Linked DNA regions of Homo sapiens: regions 1, 3 and 4 are each linked to region 2. The links are contacts of gene promoters, found by promoter capture Hi-C in blood cells and fetal thymus (Javierre and others, 2016). All regions are on one chromosome and are shown on one strand. The core of a region is centred on a gene start or on the middle of the fragment in contact, and the rest is flanking DNA. Distances in the headings are between cores, read along the strand shown.

What was found. The method cuts DNA at HindIII sites, captures the fragments that hold promoters and counts their contacts. A CHiCAGO score of 5 or more calls a contact.
Region 1: a contact is called between a fragment that was not itself captured here and the fragment with the promoter of TGFB2 in region 2, in 1 of 17 cell types (endothelial precursors). The highest score is 5.3, in endothelial precursors.
Region 3: a fragment that was not itself captured here is called in contact with the fragment with the promoter of TGFB2 in region 2 in 1 of 17 cell types (megakaryocytes); the score reaches 5.3 in megakaryocytes.
Region 4: a fragment that was not itself captured here is called in contact with the fragment with the promoter of TGFB2 in region 2 in 1 of 17 cell types (endothelial precursors); the score reaches 5.5 in endothelial precursors.

What each region holds. Positions count from the first base shown.
Region 1 is chr1:218,940,314-218,943,445 of GRCh38, forward strand. No RefSeq gene overlaps it. Among named protein-coding and RNA genes, the nearest start is that of LINC01710, 23 kb to the left of the region's middle. The HindIII fragment of the contact is 2,294 bases long and covers 213-2,506 here.
Region 2 is chr1:218,343,892-218,347,124 of GRCh38, forward strand. TGFB2 (transforming growth factor beta 2) reads left to right here and starts at 1,445. Exons shown (of 7, transcript NM_003238.6): 1 at 1,445-3,156. The coding sequence starts at 2,811. It overlaps TGFB2-AS1 (TGFB2 antisense RNA 1), which reads right to left and starts at 1,787. Exons shown (of 3, transcript NR_046268.1): 1 at 1,712-1,787; 2 at 1,284-1,497; 3 at 305-571. RefSeq lists a silencer at 1,373-1,432 and enhancers at 1,813-1,862, 2,994-3,233. The HindIII fragment of the contact is 5,586 bases long and covers 1-3,233 here.
Region 3 is chr1:219,117,298-219,120,501 of GRCh38, forward strand. All of the region lies in intron 3 of LYPLAL1-DT (LYPLAL1 divergent transcript), which reads right to left. Among named protein-coding and RNA genes, the nearest start is that of LYPLAL1-DT, 55 kb to the right of the region's middle. The HindIII fragment of the contact is 2,714 bases long and covers 320-3,033 here.
Region 4 is chr1:219,036,311-219,039,342 of GRCh38, forward strand. No RefSeq gene overlaps it. Among named protein-coding and RNA genes, the nearest start is that of LINC01710, 120 kb to the left of the region's middle. The HindIII fragment of the contact is 408 bases long and covers 1,166-1,573 here.

The sequences.
Region 1 (3,132 bases), core at 110-2,609, 600 kb after region 2:
AAATAACGTGGAGCTGAATGTTAATCCTCAAGACAAAGGGGAAAATGTCTCAGGGCATGTCAGAGGTCTTCACAGCAGCCCCTTCCATCACAGGCCCAGAGACCTAGGGGGAAAAATGATTTTGTGGGCCAGATCCAGGGTCCCTGTGCGGTGTGAAGCCTAGGGACTTCAATGTAGAGCTTGGGGCATGGTTTCTGAGGGTGCAAGCCTCAAGCTTTGGCATCTTCCATGTGATCTTGAGCCTGCCAGTGCACAGAAGTCAGTGGTTTAGGAACCTCTGCCTAGATTTCACAGGATGTATGGAAATGCCTGGAACTCCAGGCAGAAGTTTGCTAAAGGGCAAGGTTCTCCTGGAGAACCTCTGCTAGGGCAGTATGGGAGGTAAATATGGGGTCAGAGCCACCACACAGAGTCCCTACTGGGGCATTGTTTAGTGGAGCTGTGAGAAGTAGGCCACCATCCTCCAGACCCCAGAATTGTAGATCCACTGACAGCTTACACTGTGCACCTGGAAAAGCTGCAGACACTCAACAAGAGCCTGTGAAAGCAGCCAGGAGGGAGGCTGTACCCTGCAAAGCCACAGGGGAGGAGCTGCCCAAGACCATGGGAACTCACCACTTGCATCAGCATAACCTGGATGTGAGACATGGAGACAAAGGAGATCATTTTGGAGCTTTAAGGTTTGACTGCTCTGCTGGATTTTGGACTTGCATGGGGCCTGAAGCCTTTTTGTTTTGGCCAATGTCCCCATTTAGAATGGCTGTATTTACCCAATGCCTGTACCCCATTGTATCTAGGAAGTAACTAACTTGTTTTTGATTTTATGGGCTCATGGGCATTAGGTACTTGCCTTGTCTCAGATAACACGTTGGACTGTGGATTTTGAGTTAATGCTGAAAAAAGTTAAGACTTTGGGGGACTGTTGGGAAGGCATGATTGGTTTTAAAATGTGATGACATGAGATTTGGGAGGGGACGGGGTGGAATGACATGGTTTGGCTCTGTGTCCCCACCCAAATCTCATCTTTAATTGTAACTCCCACAATTCCCACATCTTGTGGGAGGAGCCCTGTGGGAGTTGACTGAATTATGAGGACAGGTATTTTCTGCACTATTCTTGTGACAGTGAATGAGTCTCATGAGGTCTGACGGTTTTAAAAGGGGGAGTTTCCCTACACAAACTCTCTCTTTGCCTGCTGCCATCCATGTAAGATGTGACTTATTCCTCCTTGCCTTCCACCATGATTGTGAGCCTTACGCAGCCATGTGGAACGGTAAGTCCATTATAAACCTCTTTGTAATGCCCAGTCTCGGGTATGTCTTTATCAGCAGCATGAAAACAGACTAATACATCATATGCGTTCTAATATTGATTTGATATTTCTCCATGAGCCATTGGTAATATGCTTTGAAGAGGGGGTATAAGTGAATTTAATTAAATAACTTAGCAGTAGAAGTGAGGCAGAGACTGAAGACAAAGGGAAAGGAGATCTATGAATTTCATTTGATTGATTGTGTATTGCCTACAGAAGGCAGTTTGGGGACTGAATATTTCTATGTGACACTTTAAGCCACCAAAGGAAGCATGCCTCTAGGATGCTGTGTTGGAAGCAGAGGTTTCCATATGGTCCAAAAAAGGAAATGGGAAAGTAACAAAGATACAATTATTCTTCTGTGCCCTAAGGTTGTCCATTTTCCGTATTTGACCACTCTCCTCTCCCAGCATCTTCTCATTTTAGAATCATGCTTCTTTCTGCAAGAGCTGGGTGTGGGGTGGTGAAAACATAGAAATTTCCAGTGAGAGAATAATCAAGTCACATTATTAACAATCCATTTCACTTTAAACAGTAAAGAATGTGCTACAGTGTTCTTAGATGCTTGAAAATAAACTGAGGTCTAACTTATTTAAGACCCAAACAGCTAAAAATTGGGTTGGAAGTTATTTATTATTTGGAAAATACTTTTTTTTCTGAATCCAAAATGTAATTTCCTTTTACTCATATTTTTTTTTAAATTTAGACAGATAGTGATCTTCATCAAAAAGCAGATACCCCGAAGATTTTATTTAAGCAGAAAACTCTGGAGAATTCCAGTGCATCAGAACTGCTTCTACACAAATGACTCCATTTGTATCTATTGTTGGCTTTATTTACGAATGATGAGCCAGGATACCAAAGAGCAGTCCATGATTTATCGCCTCCCAATTTTGTCTCTCTGGGGAAAGAATTCTGGATTATTATTCAGCACTGGGCAGGATGCCGGAGTTCAGGGGTTGGCAGGAAGGAAGGGAACCCTCCTTAGAACAGGGGCTCCCAGTAACGACCAAATGAAAACAAAGGAAGATGAGAAAAGGGTGGAGGCTTGCTGTGGGTTGCTGACTTTCTGAGTTTCTATTTTAGATCCCTTGCACGGAATCTTTAGGGTGGATGCCATTTCTAAGCTATTATGAAGGTCACCAGAAATGGGATCTGGCATCTGGATTGCTTTCTAAGTGAGTTTTACACTAAAGCTTTACCAGAAAAAGCGCCTTAGCGCTTACTGTGAAAACATTATCTGAAGGTGTAGCCTGACACTGTGCTTTGCCAGCAAACACAGAAAAAATGAGCATAATAAAACCTTCCATAGTTCAAGATCATTCAGGGCTCCAGTGCAGAAAATATTTATCAGATTGGAGCTGTTGCTGTAGAATGTGAAATCTTTTCTCTCTTGCCTTACTAAACTACACTATTCATTCTTATTGTTTGTCCTCTTCTTTGACATTTTCTCTAACTCTTTGCTGTTTTCAGACCCTAGGCACATGAATTTCCCAAAGGCCATCATTTATTTTTCTTTCCATATCAGCTCTTCCCTCGACATCACACTTACTCTCAGCTGCTATGTCTACATAAATAGTTCCCCAACTCTCATTCTGACCCTGACCTCTCTTCTGAGATCCAGGTCCATATTTTCAATTATCAACATTATAACTTCTATACTCTGTGTATCTAGATGAACCTTGTTCAAAACACCTTAGGTGAAACATTTGTGTAAAGTTTCTTTAATAAAAAGCATGAGTATGTTGCTACAGATGTGTTAAATTAGCTTTTATATTCATAACACAAGTGTCTGCCACCTGAATGCCTCCAAACATCCA
Region 2 (3,233 bases), core at 195-2,694:
TAATGTTCCAGAATGAGGAATCTAAGAGGACAGGAGAGTACCCAGTATCTCCCAAACTTGTTTGACTCCAGAATTCCTGTTTGTCAGAACATATTCTGGGACCATTGTTTCTCAGAAGTACATAGTAGGTAAGAACATAGTGGATCCTGACTGCAAAAATCCAGCTCTACCACTTACTGTGGTCTCGAACAAAGTACTTAACTTCTTTGTACCTCAGTCTCCTCATCTGCCAGATATGGATAATAAGACCCACTTTATAGGTTCATAGTGAAGATTAAATGACCATACACAACACACATCAAATTACTAAGTGTAGTATATGTTAGCTATTATTATTTTATTTATTCAGTGCTCTACTAATAACCTAGGCCCCATACACAACTGAAGTATAAATTCCAAAAGTGATAGAAAGTTCTTTGTGACTTTTCTGAACTCAGGAACATCTGAAGTAGAGAACAGTATAGAGATCTTGGGTTTGGGAGTACATTCAACAGAGTTTCCAGTTTAAATCATCTGTCTGGTCAGTATGGCTGCAGAGTCATGCCGAAATGAAAATGTTGACTTTGAGTAACTAAAGGTAAAATAAAAGAAAAAGGGAAGGTGGAACAGTGGTAAGAGTTATTCTTGTATTCATCTAATTTAGACTTAGTTGAAATTGAAAATGTCAAGTTATGAGTAGTGTAGAACAGTAGACATCAAACACTTAAAATTCCAGCTTCCTGGATTAATGCTATGGAAAGAATGAAGTTGGTTGATAATGTTTAGCCTAGCAAGAAGGTGAAGAAGAAAGCCATACAAGAAGTGGCTTAGGCAGCAAATTATAAAGGTGACCATTCATTCAAATCAGTAAAACAAACAAGTATACCTTATTCTTTAGGTAAAATTGATGGATCTCTGTTTTCCAGCAGTTCACAAACAGAGGGGTACATTGTAAACAACAAACTAACAAAATAAATTCTGGGATGGCAACCTGCTAAGGTATCCCAGAAAATAAGAGGTAGGACATGAATTTAAAAGATTGGAAGGTATGTCTTCAGTACTGGCCTGGCCCTGAGTAGACTAGTGCTCCCTCCCATAGGGGTGCGTGTGCACACATAATACAGGAGGGAAGCCTTCCCTTCTAGAGCAAGTGATTCAGCTTGGGAGGCTGTGACTGAGCTACACTAAGTAAAAACGGGAGACTTGATTGTCCTTCCTTCAACAGACCTGTCCAAAATGACTGGAAAGTAAATACCGTAAATCACTGTTGTCAGGGCGCACATTCCACCTCCTTCCTCCCTTACCCACAGCGGTCCTCATTTCCACACTCCCTCAACGGTTCGGGGAGAGCTCGTGGTCTAAGTAACGAGAGGACTTCTGACTGTAATCCTAGCACGTCACTTTGTTGAAGGCAGACACGTGGTTCAGAGAGAACTTATAAATCTCCCCTCCCCGGCAAGATCGTGATGTTATCTGCTGGCAGCAGAAGGTTCGCTCCGAGCGGAGCTCCAGAAGCTCCTGACAAGAGAAAGACAGATTGAGATAGAGATAGAAAGAGAAAGAGAGAAAGAGACAGCAGAGCGAGAGCGCAAGTGAAAGAGGCAGGGGAGGGGGATGGAGAATATTAGCCTGACGGTCTAGGGAGTCATCCAGGAACAAACTGAGGGGCTGCCCGGCTGCAGACAGGAGGAGACAGAGAGGATCTATTTTAGGGTGGCAAGTGCCTACCTACCCTAAGCGAGCAATTCCACGTTGGGGAGAAGCCAGCAGAGGTTGGGAAAGGGTGGGAGTCCAAGGGAGCCCCTGCGCAACCCCCTCAGGAATAAAACTCCCCAGCCAGGGTGTCGCAAGGGCTGCCGTTGTGATCCGCAGGGGGTGAACGCAACCGCGACGGCTGATCGTCTGTGGCTGGGTTGGCGTTTGGAGCAAGAGAAGGAGGAGCAGGAGAAGGAGGGAGCTGGAGGCTGGAAGCGTTTGCAAGCGGCGGCGGCAGCAACGTGGAGTAACCAAGCGGGTCAGCGCGCGCCCGCCAGGGTGTAGGCCACGGAGCGCAGCTCCCAGAGCAGGATCCGCGCCGCCTCAGCAGCCTCTGCGGCCCCTGCGGCACCCGACCGAGTACCGAGCGCCCTGCGAAGCGCACCCTCCTCCCCGCGGTGCGCTGGGCTCGCCCCCAGCGCGCGCACACGCACACACACACACACACACACACACGCACGCACACACGTGTGCGCTTCTCTGCTCCGGAGCTGCTGCTGCTCCTGCTCTCAGCGCCGCAGTGGAAGGCAGGACCGAACCGCTCCTTCTTTAAATATATAAATTTCAGCCCAGGTCAGCCTCGGCGGCCCCCCTCACCGCGCTCCCGGCGCCCCTCCCGTCAGTTCGCCAGCTGCCAGCCCCGGGACCTTTTCATCTCTTCCCTTTTGGCCGGAGGAGCCGAGTTCAGATCCGCCACTCCGCACCCGAGACTGACACACTGAACTCCACTTCCTCCTCTTAAATTTATTTCTACTTAATAGCCACTCGTCTCTTTTTTTCCCCATCTCATTGCTCCAAGAATTTTTTTCTTCTTACTCGCCAAAGTCAGGGTTCCCTCTGCCCGTCCCGTATTAATATTTCCACTTTTGGAACTACTGGCCTTTTCTTTTTAAAGGAATTCAAGCAGGATACGTTTTTCTGTTGGGCATTGACTAGATTGTTTGCAAAAGTTTCGCATCAAAAACAACAACAACAAAAAACCAAACAACTCTCCTTGATCTATACTTTGAGAATTGTTGATTTCTTTTTTTTATTCTGACTTTTAAAAACAACTTTTTTTTCCACTTTTTTAAAAAATGCACTACTGTGTGCTGAGCGCTTTTCTGATCCTGCATCTGGTCACGGTCGCGCTCAGCCTGTCTACCTGCAGCACACTCGATATGGACCAGTTCATGCGCAAGAGGATCGAGGCGATCCGCGGGCAGATCCTGAGCAAGCTGAAGCTCACCAGTCCCCCAGAAGACTATCCTGAGCCCGAGGAAGTCCCCCCGGAGGTGATTTCCATCTACAACAGCACCAGGGACTTGCTCCAGGAGAAGGCGAGCCGGAGGGCGGCCGCCTGCGAGCGCGAGAGGAGCGACGAAGAGTACTACGCCAAGGAGGTTTACAAAATAGACATGCCGCCCTTCTTCCCCTCCGAAAGTAAGTACTTATTTTGACTTCCATCCCCTGAGGTTTAGCTCTGCCCGGAGCTCTCAAAACCGCAGCAGCTCCCGGGA
Region 3 (3,204 bases), core at 427-2,926, 770 kb after region 2:
CAGACCAATAACCAGCTCTGAAATGGACTCAGAAAGGAATAGCCTACCAACCAAAAAGTGCCCAAGACCGGACAAATTCACAGCTGAATTCTACCAGAGGTACAAAGAAGAGCTAGTACCATTCCTGCTGAAACTATTCCAAACAATTGAAAAGGAGAGACTCCTCCCTAACTCATTCTATGAGACCAGCATCATTCTAATACCAAAACCTGGCAGGGACATAACAAAAAAGGAAACTTTAAGCCAATATCCTTGATGAACATCGATGCAAAAATCCTCAACAAAATACTAGCAAACCAAATCCAGCAGCACATCAAAAAGCTTATCAACCACAATCAAGTAGGCTTTATCTCTGAGATGCAAGGTTGGTTTAACATAGGCAAATCAATAAATGTGATTAATCAGATAAACAGAACTAAAGACAAAAACCACACGATTATCTCAATAAATCTAGAGAAGGCTTTCTATAAAATTCAAGACCCCTTCATGTTAAAAACTCTCTATGACAAACACACAGCCAAAATCATACTGAGTGGGCGAAAGCTGGAAGCATTCCCTTTGAAAAATGGCACAAGATGATGATGCCCTTTCTCACCACTCCTATTCAATCTAGTATTGTAAGTCCTGCCCAGGGCAATCAGGCAAAAGAAAAAAATAAAGGTCATCCAAATATGCAGAGAGGAAGTCAAACTACCCATGTTTGCAGATGACATGATTCTCTATCTAGAAAACCCCATAGTCTTGGCCCAAAAGCTCCTTAAGCTGATAAACAACTTCAGCAAAGTCTCAGGATACAAAATCAATGTATCACAATAAAAATCACTAACATTCCTATACACCAACAACAGTCAAGCCGAGAGCCAAATCAGGAATACAATCCCATTCACAATTGCCAGACACACACACACACACACATGCACACATGCACAAAATACCTAAGAATATAGCTAATCAAGGAGGTGAAAAATCTCTGAAGAAGAACCCCAAAACATTGCTCAAAGAAATCAGAGATGACACAAACAAATGGAAAAACATTCCATGCTCATGGATAGGAAGAAACAACGTCGTGAAAATGGCCATACTGCCCAAAGCAATTTATAGATTCTATGCTATTCCTATTAAACTACCACTGACATTCTTCACAGAACTAGAAAAGCTATTTTAAAATTCATATGGACCCAGAAAGAGCCTTAACAGCCAAGGCAATCCTAAGCAAAAGAATGGAGCTGGAGACCATTATCCTTAGCAAACTAACTCAGGAATGGAAAACCAAATACCACATGTTCTCACTTATAAGTGGGAGCTAAGTGATGAGAACACATGGACACAAAGAAGAGAACAACACACACTGGGGCCTGTCAGAGGGTGAAGGGAAAGAGGGAAGAAGAAGGTCAGGAAAAGTAATTAATGGGTGCCAGGCTTAATACCTGTGTAACCAAATAATATGTAAAACAAACCCCTATGACACAAGTTTACCTATTTAACAAACTTGAACATGTACCCTTGCACTTAAAATAGAAGTTAAATTTTAAAAAATAAAATAAAATAAAATAAAATAAAAAATATATACATGGCAGCATCTTCTAGGCCCTCAGAGCAGGAAAAATTAATTACTTTATATCATAAAGAAAAGAGAAATGGAGTGATATCACAACTCCATTTTAGATATTGTCCAAAGAAGAAAACCTCAAACTCCAAGCTATCCAATATTCATTAAAATTCAACTAAGAATATGACTGCCTTTCAAATGTATTATTCATTCATTCAGTCAAGAACTACTTACTAAGCACTCAATATATGCAAGGCACTGGAGGTATAACAGTGAACAAAACAATTTACCTGCTTTCATTGAACATATCCTAGTGGAGTGAGGTCGATAAGCAAATAAATAAATATGTATTATGTCATAAGTGCTAAAGAGAAAAATAAAGCAGAATGTTTTCTCCTGACACCACCCCCGCCCCCCACCGCCAGATTTTCATCTGGATTCAGTATCCTTTTACCCCAGTTGAATTTTTTAATTTACTGCACTTTTACAGCAATGTGAATAATATGTACTGAACAATCCATAGTCAACAATTTCACAGAAGTCATATATATAAAAAAAGGAGGCAAGATTACATCTAATTCATTTTATTTTCTAAAAAGTTTATTTAACAAATACTTCTATTGCACTTAGTTTGTTCCACACACTGTGCATTATGCATCTCATAATGATATTATGAGATACATAAAGTATCCCTATGAGATCTAAAAGTATCCCTATTTTCAGGTGGGCAAAGTGAAATACAGATTGGATACTTGTCCAGATCTCCCATAGCTAGTGCATAGCAGGTGAACAGCTGGCACTAGAGCTCATTATTGAAACCTCTACTTTTTGGTGCTTTCCTGGAGAAAGAATATTTTGATAGGGATGACAGCATTTTAGATAGATTTCAGTAGTGCTATATAGAATAGGCATATGCCAAGACAGATGACAAAGAGGAATAAATGAGTTTTTGAAAGTAAAATGTTACATGGAGAAATAATACTTTGAGCAAAGACTACAGAGAAGAATTAACAAAAATATTTAATTTTTAACCAATATTTACTAAAAACCTAGAAATAGCAATAAAACTGGTGGACCAGTTGAAAATCTAGCTTGCAGACATTTTTTTTTTTTCACCAAGAAAAGTGTTTTTAGTGTGCATGATTTTAAGCAATACATGCCTTTCTGGTTGTTGCAAGCTCATCACTCTTGACAGGTTTACAAGGGGCAGGGTTGCTTCACACATTTATGTCATCTGCCTAGCCTTTGAAAGTATTAGGATTCTCAGTCCCTCTACCAAGAAGACAATTAAATATTGGGAATGGAGAGAAATAAGATCCAGTCCTTGTGTTTGAATAGCTCACTCACATTCATTCATTCTTCAATTCACCAAATATGTTTTAAGTGTCTAATATATGCAGGATCCAAGCAGGTATAGGACTATACGATGAACAGAACCAATAGTCTTTGCTTACATGTAGCTTTCTAGCAGGAGAAGCAAATAAAGCTTATTAATTTTATGATTAACTATGAAGTTACACTGCTACTAATTGTCATAAAGGATAAATTTAATTGTTGAGAAGATATAAACATATAATTAAAATTTAGAGAGATAACCAATAATAGTAATAATTATATGGCACTGAGAGAGCATAGAAGAGGGACATCAAACTGAA
Region 4 (3,032 bases), core at 120-2,619, 690 kb after region 2:
AAAAAAAAAAAAAAAATTAGCTGGCAATCGTGGCAGGCACCTGTAATCCCAGCTATTTGGGAGGCTGAGGCAAGAGAATCACTTGAACCCAGGAGTTGGAGGTTGCAGTGAGCTGAGATTGTACCACTGCACTCCAGCCTGGGCAACAGAGTGGGACTCCATCTCAAAAAAGCTGCCTAGAGACTACTGAAAAAAAATAGTGTAGCACTGTTTTGAAAGACATCTTTTTTAGGTTGGTGTTTCTGCCAGAGGTCCCTTCTTTAGGTATCATATTTCAATTCAAGATAGAAGAGTGTTACTTAGAGCATAATGCCCTAGTAATCAATTTAGGTTTGAACATTTCATATATTTAGAGCTTAAGGTTTCAGTTTGGGGTATTCCTTATGAGAGTCACTTTTTGAGAAAGTTTGGATCTCTCGGCATTCTGAAGATTGCATAGATTTCATGAGGCATGACAATGAGTTAGCTATAAAAGCATAAGGATTTATGGATTCTATGTCCTATTAACTGCACATAAGTTTAAAAGAAAGGAGAGAACTGGGCTGTACAATATGCATTTCAGATTTTGCTGAATATAGAAATTTTGAAATGGCTTAAAGTGTTAGCCAAACCAAAATTCAGTTAAATTTACCCAATTCTGGTTTATACCACGGATTTAAGTCCTCTTCCCATTGGGTTGCTTCCCAGAGTGTGCATTATCTGTTGATTGCTTTGAAATATAGATCAATTTTAGCAAAAAATGATATAAACAGAAAGGAATATTTTGTTCTTCTGCATCAAAACTGAAATGCAATCTAACATATAATTTATACTCTATATCATTGGGCTTGTTTTTTGTGTAGTAAAAAAAATGTTTTTTTAGTACCTAAAAAGCTATTGTTTTGTATTATAATAAAAACTCTATTGATGTGCATCTGTAAAAGGTTTAAAGTTATTCTCAGTGTCATTTGTCTTAATGCCTTTGATCTTACTTTCAAATTTCACTTATATTACAGCTAATGAAATGTTACTTTAAAACTAAAAAGTATACAAACAGGTTGGCTTGTTAAATATCAGGCAAACAGATTAATGTGATTTGTTTAATTTTGCCTCTAATAACTATAACAATAGAAAAAATCCTATGTGTTTTCTCCATTTCAACTATAGTATGTAGAGCATATATGAAAGCTTTGTAACTACACGTTCGATGTGACTACCATTATGGTCAGTGCTCTCAAATAAATTTTTATCTTTAGGAGATAAACTGTAGTATATCGTATATTTTGGTTTTAGTAACTCCCATCAAAATTCAGATAAGTACCTGAACTTTGTCATCTGAACTTTACTCGAACTATCCAAACTTCCTTTAATTTGTGATTCAAGCCTGAAAATCTCATGAGAACAGATGCTCTTGTAGGTTTTCTTTACTTCCTGCTTCCATTGTGGGAAACAGGTTTCCACAGAAATTTTTACATGCATTAAGTCTGAATGCATGATGCCTAGGGACTTTTATCCATTCAAATTCAAATTCGATATTGTTTTTACCCAGTTGAAATTTCAGTTCTTATCTGAACTTATCTTCTCATCTGAAGAAAGCTTAGTATCTCTATTATGTTCTAGTAGTTTTGGTCGCTGTTCTCTCCTTGAAGCTCTTTCTTTGTTAATCCTCTGTGGCATTGGTTTTTCTCAATACTCCATCTAGAAATACTTCATCTCTTGATGCTCCAGTTGCAGTTACATCTTATCAATTTTTGCTTTGACCTTTGTTTACTCTGAATGATCCTGCATTATTTGGTATTTTCCGGACTTTTCATCCACATAGTACATGTACATTGAGCACATTTTGTGTGCCTGGCACTGTTACATGCACCGAATTCAAAGCAATAAACAAAGGAAGAAAACCCCAAATCCTGCTCTCATGAAACACAACTCGTATTGGGAGTAAGCAGATAAGCAATACAAATAATTTAAATATTCAATATATTAGCTCTAAGTGCTATGTGGAGAACTAAAGCAGAGGGATGAAAGTCCTGGGAAGGGGCATAGTATTAGTAAGATTGGCAGGTAATTAAAACTTAAGGAAGTGAGGGTACAAAAAAGAGCTATCTGAAGGAAGGCCACTCAGGCAAAGAGAAAGCATCTGAAAAGACTTGGAGACTGGTGTATGCTTTGTATACCATTTGGCTCACTTTTCTTCTCTCTCTACATCTTGTCTATTGCTATGGAGTAAGTTGTCAACAAATATGCTCATAACTCTTGTTAAATAAAATGCATAGGAAGCCACTGGTTTGGACTAAGTTCCTGCACTTAGTCCCAACAGACCAAACCAAAATGGAGGCACTCATGCTAAAGTTCCACACCCCAAGCCAAAACTGACTTCACATCTGACGTTCTGAGAAACCAGAAGCATGAGAGATAATAGCCAAAACCCCAAACCGACCAGTTTTAACTGGTATGATAAGAAAGCCCTCCCTGCTTTTAATCTCTGCAAGAAAAGTAACTTTGAAACAACCAATCCACTTTTTGTTCTCTGTTTCTGCTTTCATCAACCCATTTCTCTCTACAAAACCAATCTCCTCTACTAAGCCCATTGTAACACTCATTCTATTTTATAGAATAAGGTGTTTCTAACTCTAGAATTACAAAAGCCAATTAAGATCTTGAAACTAAATTTGTTGTAATTTTATCTTTTATAGTTCTGGCAACCATGAAGGGACCCCAGTGACATGTCCCTTGAGGAACACAAGAGAGACACTGCTGACCCCTTTTAAGGTTCTCGGTCTTCACAGAGCCTGGGGATTGCAAGTTTCTCTTAGGTCAAATTCTGTCCTTTTTTCATTGAGCTGTTTGATCTTATGGCTTTCAAATCCAGCGTTAGCTTGTGTTGTGAGAGGGTACTTGACCTTTGGGTTTGCAGGAGCTAATGAATTACTGGCAAGAACTGCAGTTTTAAAGGTAAGTGACAGCAATTGCAGTAAGTGGTTTTTACTTCAGGAGGCACAAACACCAGCTCTTGGAATTTGCAGGCATTTGGGTACTGAAATGGTTTGGCT